Linked DNA regions of Homo sapiens: all the other regions are linked to region 4. Evidence: promoter capture Hi-C in 16 types of primary human blood cells and fetal thymus (Javierre and others, 2016). All regions are on one chromosome and are shown on one strand. Each heading gives the region's core, a stretch centred on a gene start or on the middle of the fragment in contact. The rest is flanking DNA. Distances are from core to core; before and after follow the strand shown. Region 1 overlaps CSNK1G3 (casein kinase 1 gamma 3). Region 2 has its middle 110 kb from the start of CSNK1G3. Region 3 overlaps CSNK1G3 (casein kinase 1 gamma 3). Region 4 holds the start of CEP120 (centrosomal protein 120). Region 5 overlaps CSNK1G3 (casein kinase 1 gamma 3).

What was found. The method cuts DNA at HindIII sites, captures the fragments that hold promoters and counts their contacts. A CHiCAGO score of 5 or more calls a contact.
Region 1: a contact is called between a fragment that was not itself captured here and the fragment with the promoter of CEP120 in region 4, in 8 of 17 cell types (total CD4 T cells, naive CD4 T cells, total CD8 T cells and 5 more). The highest score is 10.2, in total CD4 T cells.
Region 2: a fragment that was not itself captured here is called in contact with the fragment with the promoter of CEP120 in region 4 in 5 of 17 cell types (total CD8 T cells, activated CD4 T cells, non-activated CD4 T cells and 2 more); the score reaches 8.9 in total CD8 T cells.
Region 3: a contact is called between a fragment that was not itself captured here and the fragment with the promoter of CEP120 in region 4, in 8 of 17 cell types (total CD4 T cells, activated CD4 T cells, total CD8 T cells and 5 more). The highest score is 12.8, in total CD4 T cells.
Region 5: a fragment that was not itself captured here is called in contact with the fragment with the promoter of CEP120 in region 4 in 8 of 17 cell types (naive CD8 T cells, total CD8 T cells, activated CD4 T cells and 5 more); the score reaches 11.4 in naive CD8 T cells.

The regions. Positions count from the first base shown.
Region 1 is chr5:123,553,464-123,556,163 of GRCh38, reverse strand. The region is part of intron 3 of CSNK1G3 (casein kinase 1 gamma 3); the gene reads right to left. Among named protein-coding and RNA genes, the nearest start is that of CSNK1G3, 43 kb to the right of the region's middle. The HindIII fragment of the contact is 8,472 bases long and covers 1-2,700 here.
Region 2 is chr5:123,618,384-123,621,083 of GRCh38, reverse strand. No RefSeq gene overlaps it. Among named protein-coding and RNA genes, the nearest start is that of CSNK1G3, 110 kb to the right of the region's middle. The HindIII fragment of the contact is 3,805 bases long and covers 1-2,700 here.
Region 3 is chr5:123,591,559-123,594,258 of GRCh38, reverse strand. All of the region lies in intron 10 of CSNK1G3 (casein kinase 1 gamma 3), which reads right to left. Among named protein-coding and RNA genes, the nearest start is that of CSNK1G3, 81 kb to the right of the region's middle. The HindIII fragment of the contact is 1,802 bases long and covers 468-2,269 here.
Region 4 is chr5:123,422,068-123,424,767 of GRCh38, reverse strand. It overlaps CEP120 (centrosomal protein 120), which reads left to right and starts at 1,365. Exons shown (of 20, transcript NM_001375405.1): 1 at 1,365-1,818. The coding sequence starts at 1,770. RefSeq lists a silencer at 1,665-1,824 and an enhancer at 1,154-2,099. The HindIII fragment of the contact is 3,797 bases long and covers 1-1,872 here.
Region 5 is chr5:123,574,271-123,576,970 of GRCh38, reverse strand. It overlaps CSNK1G3 (casein kinase 1 gamma 3), which reads right to left. Exons shown (of 14, transcript NM_001364140.2): 6 at 1,008-1,242. Among named protein-coding and RNA genes, the nearest start is that of CSNK1G3, 63 kb to the right of the region's middle. The HindIII fragment of the contact is 2,552 bases long and covers 22-2,573 here.

The sequences.
Region 1 (2,700 bases), core at 182-2,681, 130 kb before region 4:
GAGAAAACAATCAGCTTAGTTCTTGAGAGGCAGGATAGTACAGTAGTTAAGAGCACAGACACTGAAACTAAATTGTACTAGGTTTGAATCCTAAATCCTCTATTTCTAGCTGTGTGACTTTCAGCAAGTTACTTAACTTTTCTGTACTTTCCAGTTCCCTCATCTGTAAAATTGGGTTAAAACTTAACCTTTCTTATATATAAAGTACTTAAAACAGTGCCTTCTATACATATAGCACTATATTACCTATAATTCTTCAGTTAACTACCTAGAAGTACATAACCTTAAGATGCAATAAAAAGATGTCCATGTACACAATCACAAATGAAATTAAATATATAACTTATTCAATCACTACTCCCCCTTAGGATAAAAATACTGACCCAAATCTGACTTAGTTGAGTCATTTCAACTAGATTCCAGTACTTAAGCAGTAAAATTTTAACACTATATAATAAAAGTCACCTTCCCCAGGATGACATTTTCATTATTCATGTACAACAAGATATAAGGATGGTAGCTGAGGTAATATTAACAAATTATCCTGAAACAAACTGTTGATCTGAACTAGGGTAATATTAGATAAATGTAAAAAATCTTTGTAAGAGATAATGGAGTGAAAGCAGTCACAGAAATCTGCTCTCTGAACTCAGGTTATCAAATAATGCCTTTATTTGTACCGAGCAAAGTATAAAAGCCAGATAACACTGAGGTATGCAGACATAAGATGTTCAAGTGATTACTTTTATGGCAGGTCTAAACAAAATCATGTTATCTGGCACAAACAGATATAACAGACACAAATGAAAAAACATATAAGGAAATCATGAACTATCATTCAACAATGTATGTGAAAAGTTTTCTGTCCTTCCGATATTTTGGATGAACTTGAGGTGAACGTGACTAGATACCACTCTACAACCTCAAAATACTAGAGACATAGATCCAAAAATATTCCTAGTTCCCCCAAAGAACAATGTATAACCATAATTATTACATGTAATGCTGATCATTGTGCTTTAAAGAAAGACAAAACAGAGAGGAGGAAGAATGTTTCCCCCTAAAAAGGGGAGAAAACTAGTTAAGAGGACAGAGATACAGCACAAAAATAAACTTAAAAAAGTGATATATGTGTATGTATATAAGAAGGCTGAAAGATGACATAATAAACGTTTAGTAAGGCATCAATGGTATGAACAAGTTCCAAATCTATAAATAACAGGACCTAAGGATCACCACTTAATGAATGAAACAGACAAGGAAAGCTCAGCCTAGAGCAGGGGTTTCTGCTTTGACACGATGGTTTATCTGCCTTAATATATCAGATAACTATCATTCACATACAAAGCATGCTCCCATGAGTAGAGCTGCCCACTACAGGCTGTTGTATCAATAGCACAGACTGTAAACACTGCCACACTTTTATCCTTGCACACCACAAAGATTGTTGTAGGTTCAGGACCACTGGCCTACAACATGAGAAAAGGAAGAATTTCAAAGAAATGAAAGTCAGCAATGCCTGTTCAAACAACGTCCAGGCTGGGCACAGTGGCTCACGCCTGTAATCCCAGCACTTTGGGAGGCCGAGGCAGGCGGATCCCACAGTAGGCCTCCCCGCTGTGATTAATATTCACCAACCTCTTTCTGATTTCATGCTCATGAGGGGACCTTGAAATTTTAACTTGGCTTTCTATGTACATCGGCCCATAGAAAGAAACTTGGGCTTTCTAGACCTGTAAAATACCTCATTATTAGTTAGAAATTCACTCTTTCCTGAATCTGAGAGCTTGATAGTGTGAACTGATTACTGTGAATCCACCTCTAAGAAACGCTGACAACTGGTGAGATAACCTAATCACGTTTTGTTTCATAAGCCAAGGACCAGATCTTAATACCAAGACGGACTCATCTAGGTAAAATCCAGTCTAAAGCCACATGTCAGCCAACCAATCTCTCTTCATGGCACTGCAACCCTACTCCACATCTTTATTTCAAGTGAAAATAAACATTTGTTACACTAAAACTTGGTCTATATTCAAAAGATACTTAAAATTAAATAGTGGAGTTTTTCTATTTCCTCCCATTTGCCTCTTCTCCTAATAGTCTCTCTTTTATATATTCATTTCATATTACCCTAATAACAGAGGTTATATTGACAGAGACAAGGTTGAAAAAGGCAGAGAAAACCAAGCCATGCTAAACCTCATACACATACATATATGTGTATGTATATAAGAAGGCTGAAAGATGACATGATAAATGTTTAGTAAGGCATCAATGGTATGAAAAAGTTCCAAATCTATAAACAATAGGACCTAAGGATCACCACTTAATGAATGAAACAGGGAAACCTGGCTGCAAACCAGACAGAAAAGTTGTACCAGGAAAAGTATGTCTTACAAAAATAATTCCTAGATCCCAATTTTTCCAAAGAGATCGCTCTGCTCTGCAGCTGTCATACTGGGCACATTGAAAACTTCAGAATAATTCCACGGGAGTTTGCTTTCCCTGTTATCTATCACCTACCACATCAAGCATTTCTGCATCCCTCAAAGTCAAGCAATAGCCAGCTTTGCCATATATATGAAGTAACAATTTAAAAAGAAATTTCAGAAGCTACCTGGAAGTATGTTTTCAAAGAATATAATCCTGAATACTAAGAACACTTTTGTTTTACCAAAATGTTTGAATCAGAAGGCA
Region 2 (2,700 bases), core at 183-2,682, 200 kb before region 4:
CCACTAATCCTCAGAATCACACTTCAAAGTAGGCATTATCTCCAGTTTAAGGTGAAGAAACAGGGTAAGTGAGTTAACTTGCCACAGTTCTCACAAGAAGTTTAGACTGAAATTAAATTTGTCTAATTCTGACATTCATGCTCTTTCTAAAGCTGCACACTGCTTCAATATCTAAGTTCATACGTGAGCCAGACTTAGACCTCATTTGATTTCTAACTCCCATATGTACTGTGGTTGCATTTTCCATAATATTTTAATTCTTGGTGCTACTTCAAAATGAAATTTTCTTTCATAAAAGGAGGAAAGGTCATCTTTTGGTAAGCAGTTTCATGCAATTAGGTAAAAACTAATTTAATTCAAACATTCAAATCTTTCCAGTGTGGCACAGAACAAATGTTGGCAAACTATGGTCTGCAGGCCAAGTTCAGCCCACCTCCTATTTTTGCTCAGCTCACAAACTAAGAATGACACTTAACATTTCTAAATGGTTGAAAAAAATTAAGAGGGAATTTTATGACACATAAAAATTATATGAAATTCAAATTTTAGTGTCCATAAATAAAATTTTATTGGAACACAGCCATGTTCATTCATTTACACATTGACTATGGCTGCTTTCATGCTACAAAGGCAGAGGTGAATAATTGTGACAGTAACCATATGTGGTGCTTTCATTGTTTTGCACTGCTATTCAACATGCTACAAATCTCAGTGATGGCTATAAAACTCAACAGCATTTCAAGTGTCATACATATTGTCATACGGACATTTTATTATTTTTTATTACCAGTGCATATACATCATGTCAAAAAAAGTTTTAAAAAGTGGACTTTGAGTGTTGCACTTTTAAGGCACAGTGGAGTGTGAATTGTAGTAGAACTATATGGCAAAGCATTGTGTTTATTATGCAATGACACTTTCACTGTGCTCAAAAATATATTTCCAGACTAAGCACTCATCACAATATTCCCAACCCACAGGAAATCAACAGAACAATTAGAAAACTTAAAATGTAGTATCTTATCACAGCATAATCTACTAATTTAAAAAATTAGAATAAGGGTGTAACCAAAGTAACTTTCTGAGTGGCTCATTTGTTAGCCAAGCAAAGACAGCTATATACTGATGGTGAGTTAGAGTTAATTTAATTGTGTTTGATTGTAGCAACCAGAAAGTGGGCCCAAACAAAAACTTCTTTATGACTACTAGCTTTTCAGCAAGAATACTTGCTTGGAGACATGAGGACACTGTGGCAACACCAACAGTTAATTAAAAAACAAGGCAAATGATTTCAAGTAGCTTTGCTTGGCTTTTGGTGAGTCAACAAATGTTACCAATACTGCCCCGTTGTATACTTGAGAAGTCAATGCTGAGTTTGAAGTGACTCAAGAACTAGCCTTTATGAATAGTCTGCATACAATAACTACAGGAAAGAATATTTCAAAGAAGTCGAGAAAACACCAATTTAGTACAACCTGAAGTAGAATCTGCTAAGATGTGTGGCAATTCATGGTGGTAAAAATGTGTGAAGTGGCCAAAAAAAAAAAAAAAAAAAAGAAAAAAAACCCGCATAGCTGAATAAATTGCTCAATGGTTATATGGTGCATTATTCATCAGCAGGTATTTGTGGGAAATATTTGAATTGTCATCCAACTAGTAAAGTCAATGGTAAATTTTATTCACTTGTGATCTTAATCATCATTGGTTCCATTTAGTTTTGTTAGAAATAGAAGTTGAGTATTCTGACTTGCCCAATTACATAGCGGTTTGATGGCAGCAGTAAAGGTTTTTGGCTTTGTTTGTTAGACACAGGATCTCACTCTGTTGCCCAGGCTGGAGTGCAGCAGCATAATCATGGCTTGCTGCAGCCTCGACTCCTGGGCTCAGGACATCCTCCCACCTCAGCCTCCTGGGTAGCTGGGACTATGGATGCATGCCACCATGTCTCGCTAATTTTTTGTAGAAACGGGGTTTTGCCATGTTGCCCAGGTTGGAACGGTAGTTTTATTGTAATTTTTTGAGCTCAGAACCAAGACTGAATTCGTTATGGATGAGGAGAATCACCCTCAAACTATTTTCAAACACTGAATAGCTTTGGAAATTAGCTTTTGCTGCAAACTTAATAATGCTTTCTAATAAATTCAACCTACAATTATGAGGCAAAACAGCACTTACATGTGAAACATACTGTGACAAGGTCATTTTGATGGCAACAAATGTTGTTTAAATCACAAGTAATATCAAGCTGGCTTTATATATTTCCCATGCTGTCAAGATAAGAAACAAGATCTCCATTCCCGCACAAACTTGCAGTGAACGTATTTTCCAAGTTCTACTATAGTTCAAGCTGCATTACTGAACCTTAAGGCAACTGCAAAGGAAATTTTTCTATTTAATTATTCACTTAAATATACAATTGAGCATCCACCTAACCTTCAACAGGAAGTGATTAATATGCAATGTAATGACAGCTAAAAGGCAAATGGCAATAGCAGAATCTAATAGAATTCTATAAATACCTTCCAAATGATGAATATGATCAATTAAAATTACACAATCACAACTGATAACAGTACATGGATGTATCTATTTGAGTGAGAAGATGTTTTCAAAGATGAAATACAAAAAATCACATTACAGGCCAGCATTAACAAATGAATGCTTGCAATTAATTTTGAACCCCAATTTAGTGAGATATCC
Region 3 (2,700 bases), core at 119-2,618, 170 kb before region 4:
TTAATAGGGGACAACTTCTGTTTCAGGAAAATGTGGACAACACTAATAAAAAGTAGGGAGAAGAATATACTATTTAAACTTTATTACATGTTTGGTTCTGAATTAGCTGCTTTATATATTACCATATTTTGAGGTAGATATTATCATCCACTTTTACTGATGAAGACAGTGAGACATTAACCACTTCCCCACAGTTACAGACCTACCAAGGAGTACAACAGGAATTCCAACTCAGAGCATAATGCTCTTCCAATAATACTACCTAGCTCCTTACGAAAATTAAATATATTCTAAAGCCTTCAGTACTCTTTTCTTTCTTTTTCAAACAAAGTCATGAAAATCTTGCCACAAAGTGCCAAGCATATTGGAGTATGGGGAGCCTCAAGCATATTGTTGGCCAGAACAACCTTAAGGGGAGAGATGTAAAATTCAAGTAGACACATGAATACATGTTCTGGCACTAAGCTTCCTAAATTGTACAATGCAAAATTACATACTCTGTGGCATAAAGTATGTCATCAAAACTATGACAGTTCTATAATGTCTTTTCGTTAAACCCTCCAAATCCATAACCAGAATTAAGCAGATTTGTAGCTTAAGTTGAAATCAAATCAGATGAAGTCAAGTCTAGACAAGATCAAAGAATAAAAATGATGCTAAAATTGAGACAAACATCTAGGGCAATGCGCAATATTTTGGGGTCATGGAACTCTCTAAGAATATAGTAAGAGCTACACGCCCTCTCCTGAAAATAAACAATTACATGTACCCAACAATTTCAGGATCCCCTCAACTTAACTCATTTATCTAGGGGCATTACAAAGGTTTAAGTCACGTGACATAATCTATCTTCCTCTGGGATTGTGAACTGTGGGTTTCTTGTAGAACTTAAGCTGCTTAGTGGTCTAGAGATATTTAAGAAGTTTTTTTTAAATATACAACTTTTCTATCATGATGAAAGTGTGTATATTCACATCCCAAATTCAATATATAAGCCTATCCTAAAGAATTGCCTAAATATTATATATATGTGTGTGTGTGTGTGTGTGTGTGTGTATATATACACACACACCCACCCTACATTTAGTGCAAGGACTGGACAAATGAAACATGGTTCCTACCCTCAGTGAGCTTATACTCTAGTTAGCAAGACATGTCTGAAAGATGTAGAAAACTAAAAGTCTAAAACATTAGATTTATAATTTAATTCAACAATAGAGGAATTTCACTTATTATAATACCTAACAGCTCAAGTGGAGAATTTCAAAGAATACCGTATTAATCTTCTTCCAAGTACATTCAAGGAATTAACTCTGGTTTATAAAACACAAACTAAGTCTCAACTTCTGAGCCATTTCTTTCTTTATACAGAATCTTTTCACAGCACTCCAGCTATCAACTAATTTTAATTTATATATGAAGTAATTTATGTATGAGATGCTTTATAGTACCAATTTTTCTAAGTCAAAAATTTAATATTAATCTTTTAAAACTGGCCATGCTATATATATATATATAGCATAATATTGTTAAACACTCCCTAAAATGTAGCATTTTATTTTGCTATGATTTTTAACAAGTGGTGTTCTTTCTTTTGATTGTCATCCTGTTTTAATCTTTAATCTTCACTTAAACTTTGATGGGATAAACAATATAAAAGTCAAAAAGGACGGCATACTATCCTTCTCCAAAATGGATTGTAAGAGAAAATTTCTAGACACTCCTTAACTCAGTGTGATAGTGAAATTTTTAAGTCAAAGATGTCTTCGATAAAACTTTTTTACCAAAAAAAAGAGAAAGAGAGAGAGAAAAATTAAAACATTGCCCAAAAATTTCAACAGCTTTCTATTCCTTTACCTGGCCAGGAAACATGAACTCGCTACTTGATCAACTTCTATGCCTTATCTCAGACTGACTCTCTACTCCCTCTCTAATCCATCTCTACCTACCTCCTGCTCCAAACAAATTTGAACCGCTTGCTATTCCTCAAATTCTCTATTTTTAAACTTCTGCTTCATATTTTATATTATTCACTCTCCCCAAAATGCCCTTATCTTCATTTCCCTTTAAAAACTCCATTCATTCTTTAGGTTCATGTCAAAAGCTACCTTTTCCATAAAATCTTCATAGAGCCCCACATATGATCTCCATGCTACTTTATTAGTGTTTCATGTAATATAGCTTATTCTCTTTTTAAATATAGCTATTTCTGTATTTATTGTAATAATAATAACAGTAACAGCAGACACAAGAGTTTTGATTCAAAGCTTACTGTATGCTCTAAATTAACATGCATTATTTCCATTTTATAGATGAGGAAACTGAGGCTTTGACAGATTAACTTATTTGCCCAGGGTCAAGCCATATCCATGTATGCCTGATTCTAAAGAATTGAGTGAACTCTTAGCTACAACACTGCTTTTAGACACTGGTGACAAAATCATTCTTAAAGGTTATACAGTCTTCTTTACTTCTGAATTTCTATAATGTGTAGAACAGTAGCTTTACAATAGCAGAAATTCAATAAATAATTTATTGAACTAAACTACAGTTAGAAAGTCCAAGTGTTATTACAATTCATTCTAATAGGGTATCCAAATACTTCCATTCTAACAGAATATCACATATTCCTAAAAGTTTACACTAATTTGTACCATTAATTAAGGATTTATGATTAAACATTTTAATGCTATTATTAAA
Region 4 (2,700 bases), core at 116-2,615:
GATGATTGGTCTTAAGTTGATAATCGTTGAAGCTGGGGTCTGGGTAACTGGGGGTTCATTATATCATTCTGCTTTCTTTAAAGTATGTTTGACATCTTCCACAAAAATAATGCATTGTTCAATGATGAATCCAAAGTAGATCATTACTTTGATTTTACATTGAATAGTGCTTCATTTTAAGAATGCCTGTGATAGGACCTGAAAGGGCCTTAGAAGTAATTAGTCCAATCTCTACATATTCCTCCTTTTCTTTTGGGCAGAAAGCAAAGAAGGAAGAATAAAGAAGAGGAAGAAGAAAACAATAGTGATATTATATTATTTGCTCTCAAAATAACTTCTAAATTTCCAAAACAAGGAAGCAATAGAAGAAAAAGAAAACAGCGAGATATTATATTTGCTCTCAAAACAACTTCTCAATTTACAAAACCAGAAAGTAATAGGAGAAGCCGCACTTATGTCCACTACCTAGTGCTATCTCTGCAGCTTTATTTTATTATGATTTACTTTTGTTTTCCGAAGCAGAATTTTTCCCAAACTTAATAGTGTCCACGATCGCTCCAACCAATTCGGTTATTTAAGTTTCAAGCTAGATAACCTCCAAAAGAACTTTGCCTTTGACTTGAATACATGCTTCTTGCAATTTGAGTAGTGTTTAGGAGGCCGTTCCCTTTACAAGTCTTGAACCGTTTCTTAAATCTGAATTTGGGAGACGTTAAGGGGAAAGGGTCGGCAGACAGCACCTCAATGCCTTGTTTATTTTTGGTTTTGAGTTTGCTAATAACTTTGTCATCGGGGGTGGAAGAACCTTTATATTTCATTGCCCACGTGACAGTGTTTTTGTTTTAGGGGTAATTTCTAAGGGACAGGAAATTCTCGGGGAGTTTACGTCAGCTTTAACAAGTACAGTAATTACCGTATTGAAGCTACTTGTTTTCAAAGGTCGGAAATTTGAGGTGCCGCGTGAGCACGATTTAGGGACTTTAGAGTTTAGATTTAAGTCATTATTTTTTTGTGATTTAATTTTTTAAGCAGTGTTGACACTGGGTACGTCAACTAAGCTAGGTTTTTTTGTTTTTTTAATCCCCACTAATATAACTCTCAGGTTGTGGCTGAAGCATAAAGCAGGTAATACGCTACACTCACGCTCCTTAAAGGCTACGCAGCTTCAGGAAGCGTTTACAGCAGTAGTGCGCTTGCGCAGCTGGTCCCACACCAAGTCGCCCGCCTCTCCTCGTCCGGCTAGCAGAGGGCGCTGTGAGGTAATGAAGGCGTCCTCCTTAGGGCTCTGGAACAGAGCGTAAAAGGGCGGGAGGCGAAGCTCGCTGACGGGCGTTCTAGCCTTGACTGCTCTGTCTCTATCACCCGTTGTCCTCCAACCTCCCCTGGGCACTGGGCCTGCGGGCCTGGTTGCTAGGCGGAAGCTGGGCGCGGCGGCGGCCGCTGCGGCCGCCCGGGCGTTTGAAAAGCGGCTACGCAGGCGGCAAAAGGTCCTCGGGTGGCGGGCTTGTCTCTGCTTGCAGACTGGCAGGGCTGCAGCGTGGCTTTTTCCTTGAGTCGGGGCACAGTTAGGATCTGGGCTGGCGGCCCGAGGCAGAGGAGCCGGGCGCGCTGCAGCAGACGGCGGTGGGACCTGGCTGCGGAGCGGGGTCCGGGCATCAGGGACCGGGGGCGGGCAGTGGGGGTCCCGCCGGGGGTCCCGGATTACCCGCGACTCAACTGGACCTCACTTCCCCCCAGCCGCCTTCGCCCCCGGACCGCTCACCGCAACCATGGTCTCCAAATCCGACCAATTGCTCATCGTCGTGTCCATCCTAGAAGGTGAGCAGCCTGAGGCTTGCTTTTGCAACTGCTGCCTCCCGAGTTTTAAAAGCTTAGTGTGGGACCGAGGCCTTGTTAACCTTAAGAACCCTGTCATCTGTGCTTTTGTGGTCCCCACAGACTTGTTCAAAGTTGTACGTAGTGAGGTCTGTTAGGCAATTGATTTAAAAATCTCTCCAGGGATATGAGCGCTATTAGGGATAAGTGATATTTAGCGTGACTAGCCGTAGCCCCAGAGAATCTAGAGAAAACGATTTTCATCCAAAGCAGCACGTCGATGGCTTTTATATATGAGCTGAACGTGGTCCTGAGAAGCGCGTTCTGATCAGCGGTTCCCAATAATAGCACTTGTAAGAGCTTTGACTTGAATACAGGCTTCCTGCGATTCCAGAAGTGTTCCGGAGGCAATTCCCTTTACACGTCTTGCTGGAGGACTCAGGGGACTACAGTTCTTAAGAGGGTGTATTATACATTCCTTAAAAGGTGTGTTTTGGATGAATGACATTGGTTTATTGGGACTCATTGAGTGTCAGACACTGTGCTGGGAATGTAAGAATGAAACAGTCCTGATTCTAAAAAGCTAAGGATGTAGCAAGGAGAGTGTGTCAGCAAATAATTCATCAGGATGTGGAAGACCCTAATGAATGACCACCTCTGTCTAAGGAAACTGCGGAAGTTTCACTAGAGGAGGTGGCATTTTTTGGGGTCCTACAGATGATTAGGAATTTGTCAGGTGAAAAAAGGAAGGGCATTCCAGGCAAAGAGAAGAGCAGGGAGCACTTAAAGTATGGAAAAGCAAGACACGTTTTGCCTTGCTTAATTAAATTCACTCAGTAAACATTGGTTAAATTCAGTGTGGTTGGAGAACAGATTTGCAAGAAA
Region 5 (2,700 bases), core at 48-2,547, 150 kb before region 4:
ACTGGGGGAGAAGGTAAAGCTTCTGCTGACATTAGAATATCAACTGACAAATAAGGAAATGTAAATATTAGAAATAATGGAGTTAGAAAATCATCAATGGATGCTAAATCTAGAGGGCAAAAATCTGATGAGGAACAACATGTTTACATAATCCCAAAATCTAACTACAAGAAACTTTTCAGTAGAGAAATTTGGCAGATATCGTCCAAGCAAGTGATCCCAACATGATGCACTAAGAACACATCACTTCTGTGATATTTGTGCTCAAAATGCCTACCCAAATCTAGTCAAAAAGAAATAACAGACCCAAATTGGAGATATCCTATAAAATAGCCTGTGCTCCTAAAAAATATTAAGGTCATGAGCCATAACGAACGACTGAGGAACTGTTCCAGATGAAAATGATTTAAGGGATATGATAAATATGAATCTGGGTGAAGGAAGAATGCTATAAAAAATCCTGTGAAGTTGATATTGTTTTACTCTTTTTACCAATAAGAAACCCCTTAAAAAGGTTAAACTTGTCCGAAGTCATAGTTAGCATACAGGTAAGCCAGCTCTGCCCACCTCTAAGGTATATGCTGTTAGCATTATACTTATTAGGCTAGTTGCTATTTCTGTGGCTAGCCATATTGGAGAGCTATGGTCTCAATCCAAAATTTCCACATGTACTGAATTCAGTTAAAATTTGGTATTCTCTCATATTTTGTAAGAGAAATGATTAAATGCATCCCCATAACTGTATCAAAGTTGAACACTTCAAGTTATATAAATACAAAAAATACAGTGAATGTAAAGATAGCTGTCACTCATTTACTCTATAGTAACTTACTTTCAAAGAGTTTTATTAAAATATAAGTGAAAGTAAACTCTAGGTAGATGTGATAAATGAAAATTATAATAAAAGCTATTATAATCTGCAAAAACTGAACCATAACAAATAAAAACTCACAGTGTTAGCACAGCTGCTAAGTTCAAACTTCCATACTTACGAAAGGTACACATACCTTTTCCTAAATGTGTGTTTATGCTCATATATCTAGCTGTTCCTGTAAGGCTCTTGTGTTCTCTGTATGGTATGTGTTTCTTTGTCTCCGGATCAATATATTCCTTTGCCAAACCAAAATCTATAATGTGAATAACTTGCTGGGTTTTGTTTCCTGGTCGTCCTATTAAGAAGTTCTCAGGTTTTACATCTCTGTATATCAAGTTCTTTGAATGGACATATTCCATGCGAGAAATCTTGGTTTAAGAAAAAAAGAAGAGAAGTTTTATTTTGGGCTTTGACTAGCCTAAGCAAGTATGATAAAGGCAAGACAGAATGAAAACATACAAAAGAAATAAATCAGAAATTGTTTCAACCCTTTAAAAGTAAAATGATGTCAGCCTATCATTCTTCACATAGCAAATTGCAATTTAAAATCTTTGCCTTTACTGTTATGGTCACTGCTAAACGAGAGTATTTGAATTTTATGAATTCCTTTCATATCAGCAAGCCTGATTCAATGAACACTTTCAGAGGATGCTACTTCATAAAATCAAAAAGCCACATTGATATAAGACCTTGAACCCAAAAGTATAAGCAGACATATGCAAAACATTGCAATATAATCTTCCTTATCAGTTCAATAACCAAGCAACTTTTACAAGTATATTAAAGAAACTTAAGAGTCTAAACTATTAAGTAAAAACAACAGCACTATTCAGTATCTTTTTCTTTTTCATAACATGTTTCCTTTACTTTTTCCTAGGTATTAAACATTTAAAAATGATTAATCTTGAAGCTAGAAAGATCATAAAGCTAGAAAAGTCTGAAATCCAACTCTAATATTAATAATATAGCTCATTTTTGTTAATTATTTTACAGATTCTCAATGTTCATTGTACAAACTGTCATAAAATAGAGTATTACAAATAAGAAAATAAAACTGCTTCATTTAGTGATAATCATGGTTAACAATGCAATGTAAACATATGGCTACACAGGCCATTCTAGTTTGTTTAACAAACTTTGCAGCATATAATGTACAATATTCTATGTCTATATATTCTTAATTAATGATATGAGCATTTGCAAAGTCATGAAATATTCTTTGTTTTGTTTGGGGGCAGTTGGTTGGTTTTTTGATGTTTTGTGTGTGGGGGCAGGGACAGGGTCTCACTCTGCCACCCAGGATGGAACGCATAGCTCATTGCAGCTTCAACCTTTAACCTCCGGGCTCAAGCAATCCTCTTGCCTCAACCTCCTCAGCAGTTGGGACTACACAAGCACACCACCACACCTGGCTTATTTTTTTTTTTATTTTTATTTTTGTAGAGACAGAGTCACACTATGTTGCCCAGATTGATCTTGAACTCCTGGGCTCAAGTGATCCTCTAGCCTCAGACTCCCCAAAGTGCTGGGATTACAGGCACAAGCCACCACACCTAGCCTATAAAACAATCTTTAATATGCACTTTTTAACAGCTGCATATTTTCCTCTGGATATTAATTTATTCAACTAACCCTGTTATTTCTGCATATTTGGGTTGCTTCTCCTTTTTTTATTATAAACATCCTTTCATATAAAGCTTTAAGTACCTATGAAAACATCCATAGGATAAATTTGTAGAATTAATGAGTCAATGAATAAAAACAATTTTAAGACTTCTGCAGCACACTTCTATTGGCATTTATTTCGAAACTGCCTTAAAATCACT